Regions from separate parts of the Homo sapiens genome. Here all the other regions are linked to region 3. Evidence: promoter capture Hi-C in 16 types of primary human blood cells and fetal thymus (Javierre and others, 2016). All regions are on one chromosome and are shown on one strand. The core of a region is centred on a gene start or on the middle of the fragment in contact, and the rest is flanking DNA. Distances in the headings are between cores, read along the strand shown.

Evidence for each region. Contacts are between HindIII fragments. The CHiCAGO score rates a contact against its expected background, and 5 or more counts as called.
Region 1: a contact is called between the fragment with the promoter of LCE2C here and the fragment with the promoter of IVL in region 3, in 16 of 17 cell types (naive CD8 T cells, activated CD4 T cells, total CD4 T cells and 13 more). The highest score is 16.0, in naive CD8 T cells.
Region 2: a contact is called between the fragment with the promoter of LCE4A here and the fragment with the promoter of IVL in region 3, in 5 of 17 cell types (M1 macrophages, naive CD8 T cells, naive CD4 T cells and 2 more). The highest score is 8.6, in M1 macrophages.
Region 4: a contact is called between a fragment that was not itself captured here and the fragment with the promoter of IVL in region 3, in 1 of 17 cell types (naive CD4 T cells). The highest score is 5.1, in naive CD4 T cells.
Region 5: a contact is called between a fragment that was not itself captured here and the fragment with the promoter of IVL in region 3, in 1 of 17 cell types (M2 macrophages). The highest score is 5.6, in M2 macrophages.

What each region holds. Positions count from the first base shown.
Region 1 is chr1:152,673,534-152,676,948 of GRCh38, forward strand. It overlaps LCE2C (late cornified envelope 2C), which reads left to right and starts at 1,746. Exons shown (of 2, transcript NM_178429.5): 1 at 1,746-1,795; 2 at 2,462-3,036. The coding sequence starts at 2,483. The coding sequence ends at 2,815. The HindIII fragment of the contact is 8,836 bases long and covers 1-3,415 here.
Region 2 is chr1:152,706,278-152,709,533 of GRCh38, forward strand. LCE4A (late cornified envelope 4A) reads left to right here and starts at 1,883. Exons shown (of 2, transcript NM_001387222.1): 1 at 1,883-2,117; 2 at 2,778-3,157. The coding sequence starts at 2,799. The coding sequence ends at 3,098. The HindIII fragment of the contact is 2,492 bases long and covers 1-2,395 here.
Region 3 is chr1:152,906,371-152,909,931 of GRCh38, forward strand. IVL (involucrin) reads left to right here and starts at 2,176. Exons shown (of 2, transcript NM_005547.4): 1 at 2,176-2,219; 2 at 3,409-3,561. The coding sequence starts at 3,428. RefSeq lists promoters at 1-3,416, 1,277-2,216, 1,936-2,170, enhancers at 1-943, 1-225, 1-87, 36-87, 1,777-2,056 and 1 more, a cis regulatory region at 1,526-2,022 and silencers at 1,791-1,843, 2,216-3,416. The HindIII fragment of the contact is 6,184 bases long and covers 1-3,561 here.
Region 4 is chr1:153,039,266-153,042,626 of GRCh38, forward strand. SPRR2D (small proline rich protein 2D) reads right to left here and starts at 1,855. Exons shown (of 2, transcript NM_006945.5): 1 at 1,813-1,855; 2 at 467-1,100. The coding sequence starts at 1,081. The coding sequence ends at 863. The HindIII fragment of the contact is 725 bases long and covers 1,597-2,321 here.
Region 5 is chr1:153,146,743-153,150,038 of GRCh38, forward strand. SPRR2G (small proline rich protein 2G) reads right to left here. Exons shown (of 2, transcript NM_001014291.4): 2 at 2,840-3,296. The coding sequence ends at 3,147. Among named protein-coding and RNA genes, the nearest start is that of SPRR2G, 2.5 kb to the right of the region's middle. The HindIII fragment of the contact is 4,559 bases long and covers 1-3,296 here.

The DNA.
Region 1 (3,415 bases), core at 496-2,995, 230 kb before region 3:
CCACTAAGTAGGCATTAGGCAATGTGAAGGCACAGTCTGTTTCTGTTTTAATCAGAGGTGTGAATATCTATTTTTTTCAATTCTAATTTTTAACACCTTTATTGAGATGTAATTAACATATTTGTAGTTCATTTGTTTAAAGTGTAAATTCAATGGTTTTCAGTATATTCACAGAGTTGGACAATCACCACCATAATTTTAGAACATTTTCATTACTTCACAAAGAAAACCTGTATCCATTGGCAGTAACTTCTCAATATCTCCCAGCCCGCTAAAGCACCTGGAAGCCACTGATATTTCTCAGAGGACAGGCATAAACATAAAAGGAGATACAGGGAACAGAATCTCATCCAGGCTCTTGTTCCTCGGATGCCCTGAGTCAGCTCTTCAGGGGTCCAGCCTGGGAGAGGCTGTAACTGGCTAAAGCCTCATCCCCTTTCTATTTCCAGAGATTTGCCTACTCTACACATTTCATATAAATAACATCATACAATATGCAGTCTTTTGTGACTGGCTTCTTTCACGTAGTGTAATGTTTTCAAGGTTCACACTCAATGTATCTGTTTAAACTAAATGAATAAATGACTGGGTAACTCTGTCTAGTGCAACCCTGAATCAGAACTCTGAATAACTAGATTCCTGGCTGACCCTCTACTTCCTGGTAGGAAAGGAGTTCCCTCTGCATAGGAGCCCCAAGAAATGATGTCTACTTCCCAAGACAGGTTTCAAATAATCTAAGTGTCTGGTGGAGTTAAGCTCTCTGAGGGTAAGGGCTCTATATGGGCAATTAATGACACATAAGACCGGGGCAAGTATCCAATACATGGCATTAGTTTTTCTATTAAACATATATTTATTAAGGGTCTATCAGGCACAAAATGTCATACTTAGCTCTTTCTTGCTTCTCACTTTATATTACAAACAGCTCAGTGAGATAGGTATATCTCACTGATAGGTTTATAATGGGCATTATATGTGAGAACTGATACTCACAGTGAGTATCATAGTAATACTCTAGCAATTATTGATAATTGTTACAGCAACTTTCAGAGATTACCCAGTTATCATATGCAAGTTTTCTGATTCCAGTAGCACATTCAATACAAGTCCTCTGACTGAAGGAAATGTTTAGATTTTAGAGGGAATTGTTTATTCTCAATCATTCTCCTTGCTTTAGGTGACAGAATCAACTCAGATTTAATCCACCGAATCTGCTTGCCATGGTGAGTCGGAGGAAAAGCAGAAACACAGAGGCCAGGAGGAAGGGCTGAGAGCCTAGGCAAGGGAGGGATGCCTAGAAAAAGCCAAGGCTGTAGAAGCCCTCTGGGATGGCTGGATCCACAGCAGGACATGGAAGAGAAACTGCTCAGGGTGGAGGGAGTCATAATGGAACATTTCCACAAGGTCAGGGAAAGCTGTGGCTCAGAACTGATGTTTCCTCAGAGGACATGCATTAAAAAAATGCAGGGAACAGAATCTTGTCCAGGTGTGGGTCCCTTGGGTACCCTAAGTTAACTCTTTAGGGTTCCCACCTGGTGGAGGCTCTGACTGGCTACAGCCTCTCTAGACTGCAGCCCCAGAGAGGAGTCCTGGAAGCTCCTGAGGCCTCTTTGGATTGCAGGGACTAAGAGGCAGGAGAATGTCAGGAATGACCCAGCGTGTGCCTGGTTGTGCAAGAGCCACCTCCTGCTCTTTCCAGAGCCAAGCCTGGGCCCTATAAAAGACACATCCAGCTTCAGCATCTCATCTGCTCTGACTCCCCAGGGACGTGTCTGTGCTCCTGCGTGTGACCAGGGTGAGTGGCAACCTGGGATACCAGAGGGGTATGAGCAAGGCAGAGGGATGGGGAGGATGGAGGTAGGCTGGAGAAAGAGTTGTGTGCTTGTGTTCTGCCATACTGAGCAGGAATGGGACTCAGCCTGCCTCGAATCTGTTGAGGCTCTGAGGCCTACCGGAGCTCATATAGGTGGGGAAAGCTAACTGTGCACATCTTTTCCAATTCTGTGTTCAGTGACTTCATGTTGGTAACTTCAAAACTGCTGTGTTGGGCATATTTACACCATGGAAACTGGCAAATACTTCAAGCCAGGCTCTTTTATCTGGAGGTTTCATTGCAAAATATTTTCCAGAGGACCCCTTGGTATGTCCTGCAACACCCAGCTTGTCCTTAGGGCTTGTATTAAAGGAATAGGTACTTCAGGGAGCTGTGAATACTCTATTCGGGCTTGTGAGGATAGAGCAATCGCAGTTTCCCCTGAAAGGAAGAGTAAGAAGCTCATTCTGTTGATTTTTTATCTACGTACTTTTATCTAGAGGAAAGATTCAAGTTGTTTCTTTCAGGTTACTGATGTGATTGTATTATCTAAATATCATTCTTCTTCTACACATGCATTGATTTTAGAAGAGGTATAATATGATCCTTGGTTTGAAATATTTAAAGAGTTTCATTATTATCTTTCAGGTTGACTAAACTCCTGCCAGCATGTCTTGCCAGCAAAACCAGCAGCAGTGCCAGCCCCCTCCCAAGTGTCCTCCCAAGTGTACCCCAAAATGTCCACCTAAGTGTCCCCCCAAATGCCCACCACAGTGCCCAGCTCCATGTTTCCCTGCAGTCTCTTCTTGCTGTGGTCCCAGCTCTGGGAGCTGCTGTGGTCCCAGCTCTGGGGGCTGCTGCAGCTCTGGGGCTGGTGGCTGCTCCCTGAGCCACCACAGGCCCCGTCTCTTCCACCGGCGCCGGCACCAGAGCCCCGACTGCTGTGAGAGTGAACCTTCTGGGGGCTCTGGCTGCTGCCACAGCTCTGGGGGCTGCTGCTGACCTGGGCTACAGAAGAGCTCTTGGGACTGAATGGCCAAGAACCTGCTACGGCCTGATGGATACTCTTTCCACTTCCTCTCATTCCATTCATTGGTTGGCAGAGACCACAAAGACTCATGGGGCTTTCCTGGAAGAACTTCGTGCTTGATGTAACACCCCAATTGCAAGTCTTCTTTTCCTCCTTTACCTCATGTTATAATAAAGCTCTGATCTCTGACTCACTAAATGTCTTGGTCATTCTCTTCTCTTCTGAGATTTCAAATGTCCTCCAAAGGTCAGGGCCTCAGAGTAATTTTCTTCATGAGGCTAGGACAGGACATGAGTAGGTGATACATGAAAAGCTGCTCTGAGGAACTGATTCCCCCAGATGCTGAGTGAATGGAGCTCCAAGAGGGTCACCTCTGGCTATGGTAGCTTTGCCTTTCTCTCCACTAAGCCAGACACATGTTCTAATTTTCTGTGTAATCCAGACGTTGGGAAGGTTGGGAAGCTCTGCAGACTTGTTCTTCTCTAGGGAGAAGAACACATCCCTATGAAGCAAAACTTTCCTGCCCTTAGAATCAATAGTTGGATAAAATGCTTGAAACAGATGTTGAGACC
Region 2 (3,256 bases), core at 633-3,132, 200 kb before region 3:
ATAATTTTAATACTATATTTTATTTAGGCTAGTATATCCATAATTTTGCATTTCAGCACGTAATCAATCTAAAATATTAGTGAGATATTTTACATTTAAAACAATTTTATGTCTTCAAACTCAGTGTCATGCTATGGCACATCTCAATTCAGACAAGTTATATTTCAAGGGCTTTATCATCTCATGTGGTTAGTGGCTACTGTATTGTGCAGAGTAGGGCTACACCAATAGCTTTCATCTCTGTTTGTGCAACACATTCAACTTGTGACCTTTTAAAAAACACCAATGCTGGGGCCCTATTCCCAGAAATTCTGAATTAATTTGTCTACAGTTGAGTCCTGGCATCTTTTGTTTTAGGACTGCCTACTAGGACCACTGGTGTCAACCCTGAAATTTTCCTTTAATCACACCGTGTTTCTCTTGTGTTGAGGTTCAGCATCACTATCTAACTTCTCAGGTGTTTCTGTTTCTCTCTCCAGTTCTACTCTGAGGTCCTGAGGACAGGAACAAGGTTAATTCATTGTATTTCTCACATAACTGAGGCAGTGCTGGTCACAGATTAAGAGCTCAATGTGGTAGGTTGTTGCTTGTTACCACATCCCTCTATAGCTGATGATTTGCTTGCCAGAAACACCATTAACATGGGGCACTGGATTGGGAGAGAGATGGAAAATGGGAGGACATTCCTACAATAATACTTGCCAGAAAATCTGCCTTCCACAACAATTCCGTTCCTGCTGTCTAATACTCATTTTCTGAGTTAGTAATAGCAGAAATTACTATAAAAGTAGGTAATTTCTGTCTTTACAGAGAGGAAATATAGGCTGGGGGTTTAGTCATCTTCCTTGTCATCATTATCAATGTCTTCATGTTCATTAATATCAGCTAACTTTTGTCATTGTTAGACATCTATTTTGCATAGTAGGTATTTCCAGAAGTACCTCGTGATTATATGTGTATATACGTATAACATATATGATATACATAAGGAGAAATAAATCAATCTTAATGGGTTGCATGAAGAGTTGTATCCTATATAAACCTTTTGAGAATTAGAGCAACACACACCAAATTTCTTTTTCTTGTTGGTTTAGAGTGTTTTGATGGGTAAAAGGGAAGAGTTTTTTCTATGATGGGAAAAATATTTTCCTCATAATGATCTTCTTATATGTTTGTTGAAGAAAAAAAATCAGTCCTTTTTTTAAAAAATGGTTGCAATAAATGCAACTTGTGTGTGTGTGTGTGTGTGTAGTTGACAGACAGATACTTCCACAAAAGGTTCCTGAATTGGTAAAAGTCTCAAGTCTCTGATCTGTGCTCATGAGCTACTTAAATGCAGCAGAATCACATACACAACACACAACAGAAAAACTCAGAAACTCCTACTCAAAAGGCCCCTTGATGGTGACACATTCCTTGGTAACCCAAATAGAAGTAGTCAAATATGATAGCCTTTGAATTCCAGGCTGAAGGGTTCATAGAAGAGAAATTCTAAAGAGAAGAGTGGCTGACCGAGGGGCATCTCTCTCCACAGTTAGGACTGGGGACTTGGCCTGGTCTAAAAGCATGGGAGATACTCTCTAAAAGAGTAAGGAGGCCTATGGCACCAAACCAGCCTCTCAGGATTGACTGACCTGGGAAAGGCCCAGAGCCTCTGGCTGAAATTTGGCTGGAATATGTTAGGGGCTAAATGTGGGGCAGTCTTGGAGCCTTTGGTGCCAAAGTTCTTCCTGAGGGACTGAGCAAAGCGTGTTCAGAGGGAGGCTTGAAAGGTAAGTACCCATAGCCTTAAACCCCTCTGTTTGCTGTACATTGAGACCTTAGCCTGGGAAAAGGGTCTGATTTACAGAAAGTCTCATATAGTCACCCCCTCTCCCACTAGTGCCGAAGAGGCTATCTGGGAAGCTCATCATCCAGCTCAGGAAGAGATGAAACCAGGAGGCAGGAGAATGTCAGGCATGACCCCACACTTGTGCAACAGCCACGTCCTGCTCCTGCCATTAGCATGGCTCATCCGAGGCCCAGCCCCAGGATCCATACAAAGTGTGTTCCTGCTGCTGGCTTCTCATCTGCTCTGCTTCCTAAGGGACGTATCTGTTGCTGCGTCTGAACCCACGGTGAGTGTTTCTATAGGAATCCAGAGGGGGACGCTAGCGGGATGAAGATGGAGATGGAGAGTAATTCTGGAAGTCGAACAGTGAAGCGTGGAGTAGGAGGAGGATGACATGGTGGACAAGGCCAGAAGGCCAGAAGTAGTAGTTGGCTCTGGACAAAGCAGGAACCAACCTGGGAAGGATTATCCCTGTGATCAGACAGGAAGATGATGAATGACCTGGGATTGCTACATCCCTACCAATGGTTGGCCTGCTGGTCCTAAGCCCATTGCTCTGAAGGAAGCTTTTCTCTAACCGTGCAGATCTCAAATTTATTATTATTTATTAAACAGATTTTCTACGAATTTCTGAATTCCATTTCTAGATAAATTCATGTGGGTAGAATTGCAATGTATTTAACATGTCTTTGAGATGGCATTCAAATTTTGCTGGCTTTATTAGCTCAGAAGTCACTTATTAACCACCTAACAAATACTAAGAATTTTTGAAAGCTCTAGGGGTACAAAAGTAATGAAGATATACTCTTTGTCTGAAAGAGGTTTCTATACATGTCCATATTTTAGATATTCCTCTTCATCACCTTGGGGGAGGATTTTAAAATAAAAAAAAATGTAATGGCTCTTGATATTAAGTTTCTGTATATGTTTCTATTTTGTCATTCAGGTTTATCGAAATCCCACCAAGATGTCCTGCCAGCAGAACCAACAGCAGTGCCAGCCCCCTCCCAAGTGTCCTATCCCCAAGTATCCCCCAAAATGTCCCTCAAAGTGTGCATCCTCATGCCCACCTCCAATCTCTTCCTGCTGTGGCTCCAGCTCTGGGGGCTGTGGTTGCTGCAGCTCTGAGGGAGGTGGCTGCTGCCTGAGCCACCACAGACACCATAGGTCCCACTGCCACAGACCCAAGAGCTCCAATTGCTATGGCAGTGGCAGTGGCCAGCAGTCTGGGGGTTCTGGCTGCTGCTCTGGAGGGGGCTGTTGCTGACCTGGACCAGGAGCAGCACCAAAGGAATTAGTGGGCGAAGGACCCATTGCAGCCTGGTGTTTTACCTCCTTCACTCTCTTGCCTTTCCTTTCTGTAGCCCCATCAATTGAATAAACATGCAGGTTTGCGTCTCATCAACTTCAGGCCTTGGATTTGCA
Region 3 (3,561 bases), core at 926-3,425:
CAGCAGTCAAAGGCTCACACATACCATCTTCTCCTTAAGGCTCTTATTATGCCGTGAGTCAGAGGGCGGGAGGCAGATCTGGCAGATACTGAGCCCCTGCTAACCCATAAGACCGGTGTGACTTCCTTGATCTGAGTCTGCTGCCCCAGACTGACTGTCACGGGCTGGGAAGAGGCAGATTCCCCCCAGATGAAGTCAGCAGCAGAGCACAAGGGCATCAGCGCCAAAGTAAGGATGCTTGATTAGTTCTTCAGGGCAGAGTGGGCTGTGCTTCCTCTGCCCCAGAAAATGGCACAGTCCCTGTTCTATGGGAAAAAGAATGTGAGGTCCCTGGGTGGGCTCAGGGAACAGAGAGGTCATGAGGAGGGGATAGCACTGCAGAAACCAAGGGTGCCTTGTGAGTCCTCCCTCTGTCTTTTTAGGCATGATCCAGGAACATGACAAAATTAGTGCTTTAAATAGATTTACTTGGGGCTAAGAGAAATGTGCCTGTCAGGAAAACTATGGGGAATCAGGACACTTCTCAAAATTAGCCCCACTGAGTATTGTCTTTATAATTCCTTCTTTTTGGATTAGATTGTAAAAAAGAGAGTGTAAATGAATGATGTCCATATAATAAGTTATTAGCCAACCATTAAAAAGAAAGGGAAGAAATAAATCAGTTTGGTTTTTACACACACATACAGACACACACATATAAACATTGATCAACACTGAAATGTTTAATAGTCATTATTTTCGGGTCGTAAAATTCACTGTTCTTCAATGAATACTTGTAGAGCACATATTATATGCAGTAGTTTTGATAGGTTCTAGGGGTATAGTGGAAAACATACCAGGTATACGCTGCTCTTAGCTTATTTTCCAGTGGGAAAGATAGACAATAAGCAAGTGAACAAATGCAAATAAATTACTCTAGATTGTTATAAGTGAAATTAAGTACCAATCCTTTAGATATGGTACACAGAGAAGGATCTCTGACAGACCCCAACATTGACACTGAAGCTGAAAGGCATAAAAGAACCAGAGACCTGGGGAGGGGCCGGTGGGCAGAAGGAGAGCAGGTGCCAAGCCCCCAGGTGGAGAGCTCTGGGCTCATCTCAGGAACCGAAGGCCCTCAGTGAGGTAAGAATATACCTCTCAGGGAGAGATTGACATGAATTGGGGCCCCAGAAGAAGGCAGAAGCCAGGTACCCAGGGTCTTTTAAACCACGGCAGTGAGTTTGAATGTTATTTCAAGTGTGCTGGTGCACTGTTGGCACGGGGGAGAGATGTGCTCAAATCCCCACTCTGAAAGATTTCTTAAGCTATTTCTAGAGTATGATTTACAACAGGAAATGGATGATTTGATTCTGATCTTTATACCTTCATGCATTTAAAAAAGTACTTAAGAAAGTAGTTTGGTTTGTCATTATAAAAAGCAATACTTATTTTTATATTGTGTAGATTCAATCTTGTTTCCTTGCCTAGAGTGGGCCGTGCTTTGGAGTTCTTATGAGCATGGCATTCCTGAGAACTTCTCTAACTGCAGCCTCGGGCATAGAGGCTGGGCAGCAAGTGGCAGCAGCAGAGGACTCCTAGAAGCCTTCTACTTGACTCTACTTGGCCTAAAGTCAAACTCCCTCCACCAAAGACAGAGTTTATTTCCACATAGGATGGAGTTAAAAAATATATTCTGAGAGAGGAAGGGCTTGTGGCCCAAGAGAACACCCCAGAAATACCACCCCTTCATGGGAAGTGACTCTATCTTCAAACATATAACCCAGCCTGGACATCCCCGAAAGACACATAACTTTCCATTTCATGCCCTTGAAAGTGAATCTTTTGGCCTAATAATGAGAACAAACTCATTTTGAAAGTGGAAAAATTGAGATTCAGAGCAGAAGTTTGACTAAGGTCACAAAACAGTAGGATGCCTCACTCAGCTCCCTGTGCCTAGGTCAGAAAAGCATCACAGGAATAGTTGAGCTACCAGAATCCTCTGGCCAGGCAGGAGCTGTGTGTCCCTGGGAAATGGGGCCCTAAAGGGTTTGCTGCTTAAGATGCCTGTGGTGAGTCAGGAAGGGGTTAGAGGAAGTTGACCAACTAGAGTGGTGAAACCTGTCCATCACCTTCAACCTGGAGGGAGGCCAGGCTGCAGAATGATATAAAGAGTGCCCTGACTCCTGCTCAGCTCAGCACTCCACCAAAGCCTCTGCCTCAGCCTTACTGTGAGTCTGGTAAGTGTCGGATGGTAGAACCAGGGTTGGGACTCGGGACCTCCAACAGCATACGATGTGGTGGGGGTGGGCAGCCTGGGTGGGGGTGGGCATTACTCTGGGGCTGGATTCAGCTGGACTTTCATTCTAGGGGGACTCGAGTCAGAGTACTGAGAGAAAAGTGCCTTGGCACAGAAGTGCAGAACAGAGAGTAATCATCCTATGTCCCATCTTTTCTTGTGACCATATTTTTGGATTTGTGTGTGAGAGAGAATTATGGAAGGGAGGAGGGGAATAGCATTCAACTTCTTTCCTAAACCTCTTGGGTTTTGACAGACCATCATTTTGCCTTCTTTATGGAGGGAGAGGTTCAGGGAAGAGCTTCTACCTTTTGGCTATGCTGCACAGAGGGATGGCAGAATGGGGAAACCTTTCTATTTGGAGAAACCTAGGCAGAGCTGGGACAGGAAAACTCAACTTAGAAGTATAAGACTTGGAAGAACAACCTCCAACTCTCAGCAACCTTCCAGCTCCCGCAGCCCCACCCCAGACACAAGGACTGCAGCTAAACCTCAGAAGGTCAGGAGAGAAAGCAGCCCTGGGGTTGAATAGGCCAACCTGCTGGCTTTACAGGGGGGAAAACCAAATCCCAGGAGACTAAGTGACATGCCCAGAAACACACAGCATTCCAATGGGAGATTCAGGCCTAGAGCATGTCCTGTGGCTCCAGTCTGGAGGTCACACCATGACCTCTTAGGTCCTCTCTGGCACGGCCTATTGGTTTTCTAGGACTTGGTGTTCTCCAAGAGACATTTCATTCCCTAAGGCCTTACTCCTCACTGTGACATAATCCCAGAACGCATCTCTGCTCCTTGGTCAGTGAAGCGATGAGGGTGGACACAAGGACTAGACAAGAGCAGACAGTGAGCTGGCACCTGACCCACCCTTGCAGAACAGCCCTGCAGACAGATCTCCTTGTTGGCTCTCACCTGGGAACAAGGAGGCTCCTAGGAGGACCTTTCTCTGCCCCTCCACATTTCCACCCTTCTCTCTCTGCTGCTTTTGGGAAATGATAGTCCAGAGGTGGTAGAACAGTACCCTGCCCAAGGGAAGAGGGGATGCTAAAAAACCAGATACTTCTGCAGATTCCCAAGGTTTCATCTATTTCCTTTGCCTTCAGCCTGTGCATCAGACCTCTTCTGTCTTTCAGGTTGACAGTAGCTTCTAAGATGTCCCAGCAACACACACTGCCAGTGACCCTCTCCCCTGCCCTCAGTCAGGAGCTCCTCAAGACTGTTCCTCCTCCAGTCAATACCCATCAGGAGCAAATGAAACAGCCAACTCCACTGCCTCCCCCATGCCA
Region 4 (3,361 bases), core at 709-3,208, 130 kb after region 3:
TGTCTTTATGGTAGAATGATTTATATTCCTTTGGGTATATACCCAATAGTGAGACTGCTGGGTCAAATAATAGTTCTGTTTTAATGATGATGTACTGCTGCTAATAGACTACTATCAAATGAGTAGTAATGATATGTCAGAAATTGTGTCAACTGAATTCCTGATATTAATTCCATTTTATGCCTAAGATAAGTTAGTGATATAAATATTATTTTCCACATTTTAAAATGAAGAGATTAAAATTCTGATTGATTTGTTCTTCAAATCAATCAAACACTAATTAAGGAAAATAAAAGGGGTTTAAAATGATATAAAAATAATCATTGTTATGGCCCAAAATTCAGATAACAATAATTGTGAAATCCTGGTCCTGGGGATCAGAGAAAGGTAGAACAAAATCCAAATAATCATATAATATTACTAATAAAGCAGATTCTAAAAGAAACAAAAGATCCATTCACAAATATATATGCATAGATACTTTATTCAGGGAGTGAAAGATAAATGACAATTGCAAAGGTGGTAGAAGCTCATGACCAGGTGACAGACAGACACAGAACACATCAACAGAATTGTCTGATGGTTCCCAGGGAGAGAGCTGCTGCTCTTTCTTCCGAAGCTCTGGGAGCTGGCACAGCTGAGGACTTCCTTTTCTTAGCTCCACCTGGACAGTGGCAGTATGGCAGCCTCAGAAAGGGAATCTTTTGCTGTCACAGATCATCACAGGCAGGCCACAGGTTAAGGAGAAAGAAGCTCCCTGTGCATCCATGGAAGGCTTTGGTGAGAAGATGCAAGTGGAGCTGTGGAACGAGGTGAGCCAATTATCCTTATCCTCTCATGCTCCTGATGAATCCTGAAGCTGTTACTTGCTCTTGGGTGGACACTTTGGCTGGCAGGGTGGGGAAGGTGTCACAGGAGGATATTTCTGCTGGCACTGCTGAGGTGGGCAGGGCTGTGGACACTTTGGTGATGGGCAGGGCTCAGGGCACTTCGGGGGTGGACATGGCTCTGGGCACTTTGGCGTGGGGCACACAGGAGGTGGCTGGCAGGGCTGCTTGCACTGCTGCTGTTGATAAGACATCCTGCTGGAGTCTCAGGATCTGAAAGAAATGATACAACAGTGTTTGTGGGAAGGGACTCCTCCAGAGAGAGAAGCTAATGCTTATGTAATACCATGAAATATTATTTCCCCATCTCCAAGAAATTATTTAAACTCTTAACTGCCTTTTCAAGACTACTTCGTTTCTCCCTTCCACTTTAGCAAATTGCTTCATTGGCCCTGGGAAATCTTGTGTTTTCTCATACAATTTTTCCAAAGAAAATATCTCTGTAGTAATGAACCAAGCATGTTATTTCTGTGAAAATAACATCTTTAGGAAAGGCAGTGACAAGTTCAGATACCATGAGCAATCTCACAAGCCATTTCTCTTATCATTATCTGTAGTAAAGTCCCAGTGGGTTGACTTGAGCACAGAACAAAGGGCTGTTTGGGAAGGATTGCAGGCTCTTGGCACCTGTTAAGACACAAACCTTTGAAAAAGACACCAGGAAAACATGGGGAAAAAATACTTTGTTCTTTTTTCTTCTTCAATTCAAAGCTTTCCTATTAACTTCTCTGTCCGTATGGACACCTAACTGTATACAAGAAACAAGCTAAAATAGCATATCACTGTACTCTAAATCTAAATTTCCATCTACTAAGTAGAATCAAACCCATGGTTACAGAATTGTATCAACCAAACTTGCTGTTTTCAGATTAAATTCAATATTTCAGGTCACAAAGAACTGAGGAACTCAAGGACTCACACTCACCAGGTTCTCCAAAGCAGATCGGTGCTAGAGTACCAGGAGTTTAAGAGTTGTGCAGCAGGGAACCTCTTTATAGGACGTTCTGCCCCACCCAGTGGGAAGTGGAACTGCCTAAAACTGGGCTGGTCCAGCAATGTCCAAAGTAAAATGCAAATGTATCCATATCTGGCATGAGAGGCATTCTCAAACTAGGAAATATCCTGTTCTGGGATCTCCCCACTGGGTTAAGTGCTCATGAGTCACAGAGAACCTGCCTTAGATCTCAGTTTCAGTGACTTTCGTCAGAGAGATAATTGGAGGGATTCTCTAACCGGTTGTCAAGGGCTCTCTTTCTTGATTGGGAACAATGATCCCTTCCTATCTTACCTCCCCTGAGTCATAAAACTTCCTGTCCTGATCCACTCTAGCTGAATGCCATATTGTTGTACATGAACCCAACTCTACCTCTACTTTCCTCATACAGTTGGCCAATGTGCTAGAAGGAAGGAGAGACTTAACAAAGGCCTGAGCTAAGCTTTTTCTTTGCTAAGTTCCATGACAACAGGCATGTCACCTCTCCTCCCTGGGATTATAAACAGGGGACAATAATACTTACCTCTGGGTTTGCAGGCTGACCACATTGTGCTATCTGCTGACCCTGTTCAAGACTGAAATTTTCTTTGCCACCTTTTTCTCAGATAAAACCTCAGATTTTTACCTATATTCCTTTCCTCTTTGAAGCTGTCTTCTGCACCACATTTGTAGCTTCTGCACCACATTCGTAGAGGCACTTGCATCCCAGGACAGATTTGAGAGTGAGATCTAGTCTCCACAGCACGTTTGCTACTTGGTGCCATCAAGGATGTGTACTACAGCCTTTTTATTTATAAAAAGTAATGGAGAGAAGGAAACTAAAGTTACAAGTATTGACTCAAAATCTATGTATGGAACCATGCATATATGGTTCCCTGTGAACATCCTATAGAGAACAAGCTGCATAGACATTATCATATGTAAATAATTAGAAGTAGGTGTGCAGAGTGAGGAAGGTAAGAGCACTTAAAGTTTAACTCAAGGGGAAAATACAAACAAAGGGTAATCCAATATGTATTCTTCCTCTCTATTTCCAAACAGGTTTTAGATGTTTCTCAGTGTTTTTTAATTTGTTTGCATGTTCTTCCTTTGTCTTTTCCATAAACCTTCTAGTCCCACAAACTGCTAGATTATCAACTCATACCCAATGTATACCTGTCATCTGTCCATTTTGGTACATATTGTTCACTTAACACATATGTTGTCAATGCATTTAGTGATTGTCCTTTCACAACTTTTTTAAATGCTTCCTACAATCAGTGAGCCTTTCTAAGTACTGTATATTAAACATTTAAAGTGATGTTGCTACTGCTTCCTTATCTGGACCATTAATCGGGAAGCTTCCCAAGAACATGGTTTTATAAGTGAATAAGAAGAAAGGAGAATGAGGAAGAGGAAAGACTCAAAATCACTGGAGCAGTCACCAACTGTGCTCCAGGAAGGGCAGAGTGTTGAATCAAGCCAGCATCACATCCCTCAG
Region 5 (3,296 bases), core at 558-3,057, 240 kb after region 3:
CTAAGTTTTGTCAATACTGTCAGTTCTTCTCAAATTGAGCCATAGATTTAATATAATTTCAGTCAAACCCCCTCAGTGTCTTTTAAAGAATTCGCAAGCTAATTATAAAATGTATGTGGAAATATATAGTACTTGGAGCAGGACAAATGAATATTTATTCTAGAACCAAACTAATCAGATGTAGTATTAGCATAAAAATAGACATAGAGATCAATAGAATAGAATAAAGTCCAAAAATAGACCCACATGGATATGTATCTATATCTATATAGTTAGTTGGTTTTCAATGAAGGTGTCAGGGTAATTTAATGGGCAAAAAAAAGAAACTTGTCAGCAAATGGTACTCAAGCAATTGGATATTAATATGGGAAATAGTGAATCTTGATTCTTACTTCACATATACAAAAATTAATTCAAAATATATCACTAAGATAAAAAATAAAACATTCTGCAATTCTGGAGGAAAACAGGAGAAAATCTTAGTTACAGTGGGTTAGGCAAATTACCATTAAAGCTAAGTATCCAAAATATACTAAAAATTCATAAAAAGTAGTCAGAAAAAAACAGCTCAATAGAAATGGGTAAAAGCCTTTAGCAGGCACTTCACAAGAATGTATGTCAAAATGATTAATAAACATATTTTTTAAAACTTCTAAAAGACATTAATATTTAATAAAATGCATATTCAAAGTACAATAAAAGATAATTATGCCCATACCAGATAGGTAAACTATGAAGGGTGACATTGATTGATTAGCTGAAGGAGGGAAAGGAAGCATAAAATCTACTACACAGCTCTAGGCATTTAAATTGGGACAGCATTTTAGAAAACAGTTTGGCATCACCTACCAAAGTTGAAGATGCACATACTTCTGGGTGTATATCCTAGAGAAATGTGTGAGCTTGTGCACCCACAGGCAGGAAGAAAACATCATGATGGCACTATTCATAACAATACCAAATAGGGAACAACCCGATGTCAACCAAGAGTAGAATAAATAAGGATACAAAAGTGTTGTGTATTTATACAATGATATGCTAAAATGCAATCATGAATAAGCAAAAATTACACAATGATGGTTGAAAGGAGACAGGCAAAAAAATGACATACTGTATGGTTCCATTTATATGCAATTCAAAAACTGGAAAACTTAACTATATCTATTAATATAGATCCCTCTATATTAATGGTTAAAAAATAAAATAAAAAGCAAGAAAGTAATTATGTTAAATGTCAGCAGAGTGTTTACTTCCAGTGATGAAAGTATAGAGTGTTATTGAATAAGGCAATGTGGAGTCTTTAGAAAGTTTGGTAATGTCATTTTTCTTCAATTTGGCATTGGTTGCATGAGTGCTCAGCTTGTAATTATTCGCCCTGTACAGCTAAAGTTTATGAACTTTCCGAATGTGTTGATTATATTTCGCCTAAAATAAAGGATTTTTTATTTTTGTTTTTCTTAAAGACAAAATGTGGCCTGGGGGTTAGGAGGAACTGTCAACAACATTAAGCCAGAGCTTTATTCAACAGCTTACTGTTAAGACAATAACTTGGAGTTATTCTGTATTGCCTTGTGTAAACTTTACCTTCTAACATTCCTGTTGGGGCTTGGAGCACAGCAAGAACAAAATTCCCTAAGCATTCTGCTAGCTGCAATTTGATGAAACTAATCAAATATATTTCCCTTTAAGATGTGAAAACAGGTAGACCTACTTTTCATTTGGGCAGTCCCTCTTAGCAAAAGAGTTTTAATTAATTCCTCAGTTCTTTTCAACTTTTAAAAAAATATGTTTGAAATACCCTATGTACTTCTGGTTGAAATGCTATGCAAAAGTAATTATATACAATTGTTGAGTTATGTACAATAAAATTTCAAGACTTTGACCATCCTAAGATGGCTGTCAAACTTCAAGTATATATCGAAATCATGACTGTATCCTAGAGATCCAACCTCTCTGACCTCATTTGCAGACATTTCTCCTTGACCACCATTTTCCTTTTTGTTATTTTGTATTTCTTTTTTTTTTTTTTTTTTTTTTTTTTTTGAGACAGAGTCTCGCTCTGTCGCCCATGCTGGAGTCCAGTGGCACGATCTCGGCTCACTGCAAGCCCGCCTCTCGGATTCACGCCATTCTCCTGCCTCAGCCTCCCGAGTAGCTGGGACTACAGGCGCCCACCACCACGCCCGGCTAATGTTATTTTGTATTTCTTTAGCACTGGCCATTTCTTCCAACAGGAACAATCTACCCCTGATATACCCATGGCTCCCTCTTCTATTCATTCATGTCTTTGAGCCAAAAGTCACTTCAAAGGGTCTTTCTAAATAATTTTCTTTAAATATAGCCCATGTATTACTATAATTTGTCCTGTGTGTGGGAGGTGTGTGGGGGTCGGGGGGTGGGGGTGATATGTAACTCTCTTAAGACTGTAGACTCTATAAGAGCAAGGACTTTGTTTGGTCATCATTATCCCTATCAGCAGTGCATAGAAGACTGGCTGGCACATGATAGACAATTAGGAAACATTTGTGAATAAATCAATTGCTATGAGTACACTCAGCTGAATACATGCTCTCTTACTTTTTACAGATGATGAAACTGAAGCTAAGAGAGTTTAGGTAATTTTTTCAGCCATACAAGCTAGAAGGGGTAAAAATGAGTTTTAAACCAATAAAAGAGAATTATTTGTTGTACCGAATCCAAAACACACATTGCACGCAACACTGAATTCAGTGATGGAAAAGCCTAATAATTCTAATAATTCAATAGGAATGAAAAGGAACATTCACTTGGTGTAGTTAACAGAAGAGGTTAAAGACACGAAATGCAAACAAAAGCAATGTGGGCTTGACCATGAAACATGTGCTTTATTGGGGAGAAGCAAAAGAATAAACACACTTGCTCTCAGGATAGGAACCACCATCTACATCACAGACAGCAAAGCGAGATTAGGCAGTGATCTGGCTGCTCATCTTCCAACAACATATCGGTTTTCAGAACTAAGCCTTTTCTCTGTCAACGCTCAAGCCAGACAGAGGTTAGGGAAGATGCAGCCTCCCACTACAGCTGAAGGGAAGATGATGGAGTCCTGGGAGTAAGAAGAGCCACTGGATCTTGTTGTTTCATGGTCCTGATGAATTCTAGTGATGTTACTTGCTCTTGGGTGGATACTTCTGCTGGCAGGGTGGGTATGGTTGCACAGGAGGGCATTTATCCTGGCATGGTGGAGGTGGGCAATGCTCAGGTGGACAAGGAGGAGGCAGGTAAGGCTCAGGGCACTTCGGGGGTGGACATGGCTC